Linked DNA regions of Homo sapiens: region 2 is linked to region 1. Evidence: promoter capture Hi-C in 16 types of primary human blood cells and fetal thymus (Javierre and others, 2016). All regions are on one chromosome and are shown on one strand. The core of a region is centred on a gene start or on the middle of the fragment in contact, and the rest is flanking DNA. Distances in the headings are between cores, read along the strand shown. Region 1 holds the start of HERC1 (HECT and RLD domain containing E3 ubiquitin protein ligase family member 1). Region 2 holds the start of CIAO2A (cytosolic iron-sulfur assembly component 2A).

What was found. Contacts are between HindIII fragments. The CHiCAGO score rates a contact against its expected background, and 5 or more counts as called.
Region 2: a fragment that was not itself captured here is called in contact with the fragment with the promoter of HERC1 in region 1 in 14 of 17 cell types (naive B cells, M2 macrophages, erythroblasts and 11 more); the score reaches 12.4 in naive B cells.

The regions. Positions count from the first base shown.
Region 1 is chr15:63,830,183-63,836,023 of GRCh38, forward strand. HERC1 (HECT and RLD domain containing E3 ubiquitin protein ligase family member 1) reads right to left here and starts at 3,766. Exons shown (of 78, transcript NM_003922.4): 1 at 3,645-3,766. RefSeq lists enhancers at 2,922-3,787, 3,788-4,651, 3,825-3,954 and a silencer at 3,155-3,584. The HindIII fragment of the contact is 17,710 bases long and covers 1-5,841 here.
Region 2 is chr15:64,087,884-64,093,997 of GRCh38, forward strand. CIAO2A (cytosolic iron-sulfur assembly component 2A) reads right to left here and starts at 5,955. Exons shown (of 5, transcript NM_032231.7): 1 at 5,762-5,955; 2 at 804-968. The coding sequence starts at 5,885. RefSeq lists enhancers at 1,547-1,606, 1,657-1,706, 5,030-5,592, 5,228-5,277, 5,638-6,114. The HindIII fragment of the contact is 1,837 bases long and covers 3,663-5,499 here.

The sequences.
Region 1 (5,841 bases), core at 2,516-5,015:
GGGAAGAATAGTAACTTTACTGTGAAGAATACCGCTAAGGGTTCAAAGTTAAAATACCACTAGCAAAAAGACATGTCAACACCATGTACCCCCAATATGATGCATTGAGAAGGACACAACATCGCTTCTGTAGTTTTCTTGCAAAACATGCTTAACCTCAATCAAATCATGAGAAAAAACATCAGACAAACCCAAAATGAAAGAAGTTCTAAAAAATAACAGTACTCATCAAAAATGTCAAGGTCGTGAAAAACAAAAACTGAGGAACTGTCAGAGATTGGAGGAAATGAAGAAGACACAACAACTAAATGCAACGTGGGAACCTAGATTAGACCCTAGAACAAAAAAAAAGGCATTAATGGGGAAAAACCAGTGAAATTAAGTAAAATCTATAGTCAATAGAGTTACACCAATGCTAACTTCTGGTTTTGATCACTGTATTATGGTTATGTAAGTTGTTAACATTAGGGGGAGCTTGGTGAAGAGTATGTAAGAACTCTGTACTCTCTCTGTAACTTTTCTGTAAGTCTAACATTATTTCTAAATAAATCATTAAAAATAAATAAAATCCATCAACCAATCATCTGATACAACTGTCATATCTTCTTGCTCAAGGATCTCATCTGAAATTTAACAGTCCCATTAATTTAGAGAGCCCGGTAGGCAACATCAGAACAAACTAAAATCATGAAAATCGGATCTGGCATCTAGTAAGTAAACAACTACTTTATGCTCTTTTTCACTTTTTGTAGTTAAAGAAAATGCTAGCAGATGTGACCTTCCTGGCTTTGCAAACTTCTCTGTAAATGATTTGACCAACTTTTTATGTTTTCAACATCATGATAATCTGCAATACATGCTCACAACAATGTATTTCATGTGTATGTTAAGCCAAAGTTGTGTAGACCTTTGTTGTTGTTTGTTTTGTTTTATTTTGCTTTTGAGATAGAGTCTCACTGTGTCTCCCAGGCTGGAGTAGAGTGGTGCAATCACAGCTCACTGCAGCCTCAATCTCCCAGGCTCAATTGATCCTCCCATCTCAGCCTCCCTAATAGCAGGAATTGCAGGTATGCACCACCACGTCCAGCAAATTTTTGTATTTACCATAGAGACAAGGTTTCACCATGTTGCCCAGACTGATCTTAAACTCCTGGGCTCAAGCCATCCTCCCACCTCGGCCTCCCCAAGGGCTGAGATTACAGGCGTGAGCTACTGTAATCTGGCCAAAAGTTCTATTTACAATTTTTAAAAATAGCTTCAACAGATTATAGTAAGTTTGTTACTTGCTATTATATAGTTATCCAACTATAACATTCAAGTTTTGTTTCACAAGTTTCTTTTTATCCTAACACAACCTTCTCACTCTCCAAGCCACGATGTCATCATTATCATCATTTTAAGATCTGAAAATCTGAATTTTAAAAATTTTAAAAGGTCAGCTCCTTCAATATACCCAGCCCCCTTTTTTTTCTATTTCAAATATTAGGGAGTATTCAGTATGACTTTTTTGGGGGAAAACATGCTTGGAACGTTGGAATTGTTATTACTATTTATTATTTGCACCCTCTACTAACCCAATCCAGTCCAATCACCAACACATTCTCCAAAATTTCTTTAAATTGAGATTTTCAAGAGATGTTTATATTAATAAGCAGATTAAGTGACGCATTTACATTTGCTTTCTCTTCCATGCAACATCAGGGTGCCTGCATTGGAAATGGAATACATGACCAGCAAATGAATGGATGTGTCACATGCAAACAGCATGACTGGAAATTTAAGAAGCAAAATGATAAGAACCTTAGGGAACGCAAAATTCATAAAAGTTTAGAATTACAAGAGGCCTTAATAGGCCATTTAATCCATTCCAATAACAACAACCCCAGATGACAATCTATCCTATTTTTAAAAGGCTCCAGATTTCCAACCTCCCTAGATATCTCATTCTGCCATACAACCTTGTCATGTGATTTGGGGGAAATATTATGACTGTTCTTTGCCCTTCCTAATGCTATCTTTTCTCAAATAATATAGCAATACATCTTAACTCACTTCCAAGATATATAAATGTGTATAGGTGCAGAATACGTGTGTGTGTGTGTGTGTCTCTATACATATATACGTACATTTATGCATAAGACAGGCACCTAGGACATTCAATTTTGCTTGTATAAACGCAGGCTATGGAAACACATATATCAAAGAGACATACTCATCCCACACTAATCACAACAGGCACTATGAAACAATGTCACAGAACAATTTTGGTCTAAAAATATCCAGTAGAAATCAATTTCATAAAACCTGAGGTAAATAGGTTTCTTCCCACTATGAATAATCATAGTTTCTTTCCCTTCTACAAATACTGCCCCATTTTGAGCAACCACCACTAACAGAATTGTAAAAATATAATATATACATAGGTACTAGACCCAAACAGACAATGTTTTAACGTTTGATTTTTCAAACCACTTAGCTAACAATCATTTTGGAAAAGGGCCCAGTGAAAAAGATAGTGATGGCAGAGTTCAGCCAGTGATAATGAACTAGCAGCCAGTTTTAATCAAGCAGGCCAGAGAACTGATTCAAATAAAATAAATCATTTTTGGAACAAATATAGAATGAGGAAGTCCCAAGCAAGGATAAAAAAAAATGTGTCTGTTAGGAAATACAATAAAATGTTAACCATGAAATGCCACCTCTGGAGATGGAATTACAAAGATGGGTTAGTTTGTTCAGATTTGTTATTCCCATCATTTAATTATCTCTATATTCTAAGTATTATAGACATTTCTTAAACTAAGACAAATCTGTCCCTGTGTTTCACAGCTCTCTAAGATAACATGTCTTTTACATAACCTCCTGGGAGAGGTGGTACAAGCTCCTGTCCTCCTCGTGTCTCCCAGTAACCTGCCACCCATCACAGAACAGATTTCACCATGTTCCCCGGGGTAGCTCCTGTCATCACCATCATCATCCTCATCTCACGCTTAAGACTAAACAATGCGCCCCGCCTCGCCTCCCGGTTGCAAAGGCTTTATAATTTGTTGTTTTATTGGGGCGGGAGATTTGGAGAAAGGTTTAGCAGATGATGAGCTGCCCTCACCCAAAGGCAGAGGAGAGGAGGAAGACACGTCGTCCCAGCCTCCACCCCGCTAAAGGCGGCCGGCGCCTGGGGACACCGGGGTCGCGGCACTCCCCGGACCCTGAGAGGGAGTCGGCCGCCGCCCGCGGACCGAGCCCCAGCCGGGGCAGAGGAGCTGGTCAGCAGATAAAGGAATGAAGCAGAAAGAGACGCGACCACAGCGGGGCCGGGGCACAGACGTTGTAAGCCGCTGGAGGGGCGGGTCTCTCGGCCCTCTCCGCGGGCGCCTCGGCTTCTACGCTGCTCCGAGGCGCCCGGGCGGCAGGAGGCCTCTAGAGCCGGGGACCCGGGGGATCCGCGGCGCGCCAGGAGGGCTCCCCCAGCTCGCCTGCCGCCCACCCGGGACCCCAGCAGCCCCGCTCGGCTGCAGTCCCGAAACGGCCCCGGCCGGCCCTGCGCGGCCGGCAAAGCACACACGCGCGCGCGCACACACACACACACACACACACACACACACACACACAGGACCAGGAGGACGGTAGATGATGCGTTACCGTACGTGGCTCTGGAGCTGGCGGGGTGGGGCGCGGCTCCGGCGACCCGAGCCCGGCTCCGCAGAGGCTGCGGCGGTCGCGTCCTTTATTTTTGCTGCAGCAGCAGCGACTTGTCAAAGGGAAAGACGTAAGAGGCGGCGGCAGCAGCGGCGGCGTCAGGCGAGTCTCACGAGATTTGGGCGGAACTCTCGCGCAGCCGGGAGCCCTCGCCCCGCCCAACAGGCCCAGCGCGGGAGGTGAAAGGGGAACCGAGAGGAAGGCGGCTGAGGTGGAGTTGGGGGTTGAGCGAAAAGGGGAAAGGGATTTGGGAGCGAGGGGAGCCAAGCTAGGTGCTGGGGACACTTTGCTACCGCGCGGCCCTCACCCTTCAGCCGTCGCGGAATCCGGGCAGCCCCGACCGCCTGCGGGGACCTGACTCCACAGATGAAGCACAATTGGGGGCGTTTCACAAAGGGTGGTGAGGAGTGGGGGGCCATGCAGTGCGCCCCCTTTTCCTCGTGGTGGGCAGGGAAGACCCCGCCGCCAGGCGAAGGGACACGTGTTACGGCCGGCGGCAGGGCCAGGGCCTCACCCCTTTATCTCCGCCTCGCACCCGGCGCCCCACGCTCTTTATCTCTCATCGCAGCGGCCCCGGCCCTCCGGCCGGCTAAGTTCAATCACATAAAAGCGTTTCACTTGACCTACTCTTCCACCTTGTTCATGTCTTTGCGCCTTATGGGACTGCCAGAACCCTGCAGATGCCAGGGCCTGGCTCCTCGGTTTTCTTTTCTGCTTGGGAACACAGTAGTGTCCTTTGGGTGACTTACATCCTTGATCATGACCTCGACCTCCACGTGAAACCCCATGAGGGGAAGGACACAGACTGGCTCAGTCCTCACCATATCTCCAGCGCCTAACATAGGTCCAAGTGGACATTAAATTGTTGAGTGAATACCCCATCTCCATCTTCCTCCTTCTGTACCTGGTTTTACTCCTTTCCAGCCACCTTCATGGTGTCTTTCCTTCCAGATATTCTAACGAGCATCAATTAAACTGACCGATGACTTGGGGACAAAAAATAGAGTTGGCCTCTGCGTTCCAGAAGTTTGCAATCCAATTGGAGGCGTAGGAGAAGCACACAAACATACAAGCCATGAATGTGTCACTAATGTAAGAAATTACGGTATAGACAGACGAGGGAGTGCTTTCCCATGGTTAAATTAGATACATGTTTGTGTGTCACATGAGGCAGTTTAGTCCAAGAGTTAGGAGCCATGTGCTTCACTGTCAGACACTGGTGGGAATTCTGGAATCCCACTTACCCCAGGTGTGTGACCTTGGGCAAGTTGCTTGACCTCTCTGAACCTCAGTTCCTTATGTGTCAATTTATAATGCCAGTTCTTGTTATCACAAGGTTCCTCTGAGGAGTAAAATATATGTAAAGCTCACATACGGCACATATTAAGTACTCATTAAATGATGGGTCTTAGGTGTGTAGCTTTTAAGTTTCTATGTATAAAATGTGTATTTCTGGTAAATGATGTAAGGGAGTAGCTACATGAGGAGTGATGTCATTGTTGCTAGTGCTTTATGATCTGGGTATTGTGTGTGAAGCATACTCAAAAACAACAAGCAAAAGCTCCTCCTTTTAACTTGTTGATGTCATCTACGTCACTCACAAATATGATATTCTGTCTTTCTTGAATTTGTAAAATTGTACTGGTTTTGCCCACTTTTTCTTTTTCTTTTTTTTGAGATGGAGTTTTGCTCTTGTTGCCCAGGCTAGAGTGCAATGGCACCATCTTGGCTCACTGCAACCTCCGCCTCCCAGGTTTAAGCGATTCTCCTGCCTCAGCCTCCCAAGTAGGTGGGATTACAGGTGTGTGCCACCATGCCTGGCTAATTTTTGTATTTTTAGTAGAGATGGGGTTCCACCATATTGGCCAGGCTGGTCTCGAACTCCTGACCTTGTGATCCGACCGCCTTGGCCTCCCAAAGTGCTGGGATTACAGGGGTGAGCCACCGTGCCCAGCCTGGTTTTGCCCATTCTATTTCAAGAAAAGGACTGCTTACTTTAAAGACCAATCAAGAGACTCCCTCTTTTACCATCTCCTTAGCTTCCACCCTCAGAGCTGTGTGTAAAAGAGAATTGAATACAACTGTGTTCAGTTGCATACAATTAGCAAATACTGTTAGTGTCAGCAAGTGAGCCCTGACTACTAG
Region 2 (6,114 bases), core at 3,331-5,830, 260 kb after region 1:
GCAATCAAATACAAATGTATGTTTTTGCTTTTTTTACACAAATGATAGCAAAATGATACTTGCTTTTATTTCTTAACAGTATGTCATAGAGATCTCTCCATATCAGTACATGCAGAGCTTCTTCATTCTTTTTTATAGCTGCATAGTATTCCACTGTTTATATTCACCATCAATGATTATTTAATCAATCCCCTACTCATGAACATTTGGTTTGAAATAAAATCCCTTTATAACAAAGCATATGTTCAAATACATTTATTGTACCTGCTAACAAATCCAAAATACTGGGAATCCAACCTCCTACCAGGACTTCTACCCATACTATGTAGAAACCAGAAGAGTCACTGAAAGGAGATGGTGATGGAAGCAATGCTAGTCTGACACCACCCACTCCAACCTCCAGAACTGAGGAAAAGCACTGGCCCACATGCACTCTCCATTAATTGTGGGCATATATACCTGGGAGGGGCAGCCTGACATAACTAAAGGAGAAGTGGAGTCAGGAGACCTGGGTATGAGCCTTAGTTTCACCATTTCCTGGCTACCTGATTCTGTGCAAGTCACTTAAACTCTCTGAGCTTCAGGTTCCTCATCTGCAAAATGAAGATAATAATATTTTAACTCAACAAGCTAATTGTGAGGACTACAGAAGATGAATACACGAACATACTCTGTAAACCATAAAGTGTAATACATACACTGTATGGTTTTTCAACAATGATGCAAATTGTTATTATGGGTCAATATCAGCAAGAATAACTTAGAATTTATATAAATATACATGTATGTACAGAAAAACTTACCAATAAGAGTCGCCAAAGAGCAATGAGGTACTGTTGGCGTGAACCTGATAATAACCAGATATTCTTCTTCATTTATCTCCTGAACTTCCACACAACTTTCCGAGACCACTTCCAGTTCTTCTAAAGTATTGGGCTTTTCTGGGTCCCGGATAGTTCTAATCAAATCTAAAGAATCATCAGAGATAAGATATTCTATTAAAACATGACTATTCTAAATAAAGATGATTTTGCCAGGCCTAATTTAAGCACTGACTTCTCTTACGTTTAAGCAAATAGTACAGCAACTCCCAGGTTTCTGACAGAAATTTTCACTACTGGTTTCCTCTTGAGAAAACTGTTTTCTTGGATTATTATAAGACCATATCCAGTTTCTCCAATCGGACATTGCAGAGAAAATATAATAAGAATGGAAACAGTGTCATGGAAGCTCAAGAGGAAGAAATAACTTTCAGCTTGAAAGAATGTGGTTATCAGGCTTTATAGGAGCGGAATCTGAATCAAGCCTTGAAAAATAGGTAACATTTCAATATTTGACATTTAAAGTGAAGGAAAGTAGCTGGGCATGGTGGCTCACACCTGTAAACCAACCACTTTGAGAGGCAAAGGCGGGAGGATCACTTGAGCTCAGAAGTTCGAGACCAGCCTCAGCAACATAATGAGACCCCCGTCTCTACAAAAAATACACACAAAAATTAGCCGGGTGTAGTGGTGCAGGCCTGTGGTCCCAGCCACTCAGGAGGATCGCTTGAGCCCAGGAGGCAGAGGTTGAGAGCGGAGATCGTGTCACCGCACTCTAGGCTGGGCAACAAAGCGAGACCCTGTCTCAAAAAAAAAAAAAAAGTGAAGGAAAGTAAAGTAAAGAAGAAGAACCCTAGTTTGCCTGGAAGCAGGCATAAGTGAAAGGTGTTTTAGAGTATGAGATTTGGGTCTGACCATCAAGTGTCTTTTACAGCCAGCTACCGGCAATAGCAAGTCCTCAAGAGGTTTGAGACAAGTGACATGGACAACACTGTGCTGTCAGCTGGTAACTCATCATCAGCTGCTAGACTCAGACTAAAAAGCAGAACCAATGATACCAGCTAAAAACACCAGGCCTAAAATAGTATCTAGGACAACACTGGCAGAACTAAAAGAAACAGAACGAGGAAGAAATTTGGGTGGGGCATAGAGCAAATGAGTTCAATTTCACACAGAATGATTTTGAGGTGCTTAAGGGGTTATCCAATGGAGTTTTCTAGCAAGTGGTAAACTGTAGCATAGAGTTTAAAACAGCATCAAAGCTAGAGTGGTTGTCAAACCCACAGGATTCACAAAGAATAAGTAGAACCTTGGCTGAACATTGGAATTACCAAGAATGTTTCAAAACAAACAACAAGGCCGGGCGCGTGGTTCAGGCCTATAATCCTAGCACTTTGGGAGGCTGAGGCGGGTGGATCGCCTGAGGTCAAGAGTTCGAGACCAGCCTGGTGAACATGGTAAAACCTCGTCTCTACTAAAAATACAAAAATTACCCAGGCGTGGTGCCGGGCGCCTGTAATCCCAGCTACTTAGGAGACTGAGGCAGGAGAATCACTTGAAACCAGAAGGCAGAGGTTGCAGTGAGCCGAGATCCCGCCATTGCATTCCAACCTGGGCAACAGAGCAAAAACTCCGTCTCAAAAACAAAAACAAACAAACAAAAAAACCTGATGCCTGGGCCCCAATTCCAGAGACTCTGATTTAATTGGTTTGCTGGCCTTTGAGTTTTAAAAATTTCTCGGGTTGTTCTTAGGTACAACCCAGTATGAGAATCAGTGGTATAAAGAAAAAAGAGACCCAACAGATCCATGCGAAGCACCTAACTTAGGGATCAGAATGAGAAACAAAAGCAAAAAGAACTAGAGGAGGGAAGAGAGGGATGGTTAATAACATTAAATGCTGCAGAAAAATTCAGGCTCATGAGAGCTAAAACAGGTCTTTCATTTGTCACCCCAGCCAGCTGTAAGAAAGCAGTTTCAGTAGAGAGTGCGTGCGCTGAAGCCAGCTTGCAAAAGGGGAAGCAAGTAGGAACTGAAAATGTCTTCCTAGGGCCTTAGCTGGGAAGGGAGGGACATGAAAAGGACAATGACTTTATAAGGAAGCTAGAACAATGACAAGGATAAGGGCAACTTTGAGGAGAGAAATTGAAAATATAAGTTGGGAGGAGCGGAGACTGGTAAAATAAGCAGAAGGGAGTGGGATCAAATATTTAGAAGTCTCAGTTGGCCTTGGAGAAGACAAGATTTCTTTCTTACTCTGAGGCTGGAGAAAGAGATGAAGGAAAGGAGAACAATAAAGAGAAATGGTGAGGTAGAAAGGAAAGAAGCAGAATTTTACATAGAATGTGCTTGAGGTTCTCAAATCTGAAGTTTTGTTTTATTATTTATCACACAAAATTATATGTAATCAGAAATGCAACTGGGAAAAACAAGAACAAATTCTATTTTCTCTTTAATTTGCTCCTGGGCTTGTCACTTGATTAGAAACAGAATTTTGCCAAACATGACGGCTCATGCCTGTAATCCCAGCACTTTGGGAGGCTGAGGCAAGTGGATCACCCACCTGAGTTCAGGAGTTCAAGACCAGCCTGGCCAACATGGCAAAAACCCGTCTCTACTAAAAATACAAAAATGAGCCGGGTGTGGTGGCATGTGCCTGTAATCACAGCTACTCAGGAGGCTGAGGTAGGAGAATCACTTGAACCCAGGAGGCTGAGGCTGCAGTGGGCCAAAATTGTGTCACTGCACTCTAGCCTGGGTGACAGAAGAGACTCTGTCTCAAAAAAAAAAAAAAAAGAAAGAAAGAAGCAGAATTGGAAAACATAGGCAAGAAAGTCGACAAAGCTTCTCTTTCACAGAGCTGTGTTATCATGGGACTTAGGGAAACAGAGTTTTCTGAAAAGGAATTTTCTGCCTCTCATACTAGGCTTTCTCCCCATAAGGCTCATTTAATTGTATTATATTCTTTATATGCCACTAAACCCTGAAATTAAATATCATCCTTATTAAATTTCTCTAGTTTTCTAGTTTCTAGATTTGAGAGGTTTGGCTTTACTTCTTTAAAAAGAAAGAAGGGCCGGGTGTGGTGGCTCATGCCTGTAATCCCAGCCTTTGGGAGGCCGAGACAGGCAAATCACTTGAGCTCAGGAGTCCAAGACCAGCCTGGGTAACATAGCAAAACCTCATCTCTACAAAAAAATACAAAAATTAGCTGGGCATGGTGGTGCATGCCTATGGTCCCAGTCAGTCAGGAGGCTGAGGTGGGAGGATGGCTTGAGCCCTGGAGGTGGATGGAGGCTGCAGTGAGCAGTGATTGCACCACTGCACTCCAGCCTGATTACCAGAGTGAGACCCTGTCTCAAAAAAAAAAAAAAAAAAAAAAAAATTTAAAAGAAAGTTCTCCTCATATTACTCCCCACACTAACATTCTTCCACAGCACTGCACTATTAAAATTCTTCATTTATATTTAAAACCTTCAGTATCCAACTGCATCCCACTACCTAGAACAATGTTCAACCACATCTTCACATTTAACCACAAACCCTATCCTATAGCCCCATCTATCTGTCATTTCCTATCTTCTTACCTCCATGCTTTTAAGTTTCCTCTTAGTATGCCCTCTGACCCTCTACATATCTAGATCCTAATTATTCTTTGAGGCCCAACTCAAGTGGCTCCTTCTCTTTATTTCAAAGTCTTTCTAGATCCCCTCAGTCAGAGACTAGTATCTCCCTTTCTCTGAATTTCTGTATCTCTTATTCAGTCTACAGCCTTCTATTACATACTCTATTTTTGCATATATGGGTTTCCTTCAATATCAGTTTGAAGACTAGAGTCACTCTCTTCCAAAGTTGTATCTCCAGTGCCCTACCATCCCTAGATTATGTGGACAGAGATCTGGCAGGACAGGGATGTGGTCTGCTTTGTGGAGATCATTTTACTCACAATTATCATCTGCCTGGAGGCTGATTAGGTAAGTCCTGCCTCTAGTAAGAGAGGTCAACCAAATTAGCTCCCAGAGTATTTCCTAACCCTGGCTTCCTTCTACTGGCCTATAATCCTTACTTGAATTATATTTGTATTCTATGGTTAGATCTCTCAATATTATATCCAGTCTTTTCGGTTTTCAAAAACAATACAACATAATTAAAAAAACAAACAAACAAAAAGTTGTAAGGCAATTGTGAAGTGGTGGAAAGTGCATTACGGTTAGAACCAGTAGGCACAGCCTTTGCTTTTTGGCTCTGTTCCTTACTGGCAGTGTGACCTCCAGGTAGTTCTTTAACCTTTGTTTCCTCATTTGTACAATAAAGATGGCCCCAAGGGTTAAACAGAAAATATTTAATATGCAACATGGAAGAGTGTGTATGTGTGTGTGTGCGTTATGTGTGTGTACACAAGGCCTTGCTACAAGAAGCCAATCTCGTTCTCTTCTTTCGGGGACCTCTGCTTACTGACTTTGCCGGATAGAGTGGCTGTGACCTTGGGCCAGTCCCCAACTCGACTGTCACCCACAAGCGCCCTCAGCGGTAGCAAGAGTGCGTGTCCAGGAGCTAGAGAACGAGGCTCTAGTAGTGCAATCAGGCCAGCTTTGCTTCCTAACCAGGCACCCTAGACTTGTGGTCTCCCCACAAGTCTTGGAATGGTTACTAAGACGTAGGCCACACGTGGAGAATGAAGCTTTTAAGACCTCTGGGTTCGGCTTGCCCCAGGTTTACGAAGAGCCCAGTTCCCAGAAAGACCCACACCCCCCACGTGACTTAGGACCCCGAAGAAAGCGCCTGCTACGCCCCGGACAAGATCTGGCCAAAAACAAACAAACAAACAAACAAAAAAAAAGGTCTCCCCTCCCAGCCCTCAGGTGAGGCCATCATCCCCGCACCCCTCAGCTCCGGCCTGCACCTATAACGCCAAATGCTGTGCTGGGTAAAATTAATTACCATAAACTTCTAGCGCTTTCTCTTCCATGATCCGGGGCTGCCGGGCAGCTCCCGGCTCAGAGAGGCCGGAGAGCCACAGGACTCTGCTCAGCGTCCAGGAGAGCAGCCCGGACACCCGCTGCATCTTCACGCTCAGCCATCCCTGGCGACTGTCCCAATCGCGCCACCGTCTCTCAGCAGCCTCGGGATTGATCAACTTCCTGGTCTTCAAATGGGCCGAGACAAGCCTAAAGGTTCAGGAGAGCAGAGAAAAGGCGGGGCCAGACGGAGTAGCTCGAAGGACCTAGGGAAGGGGCCTCAAGGACTACAAGTTCCAGCGTGCTTTGCTCGATTTCGGCGGGACAAAAACAATC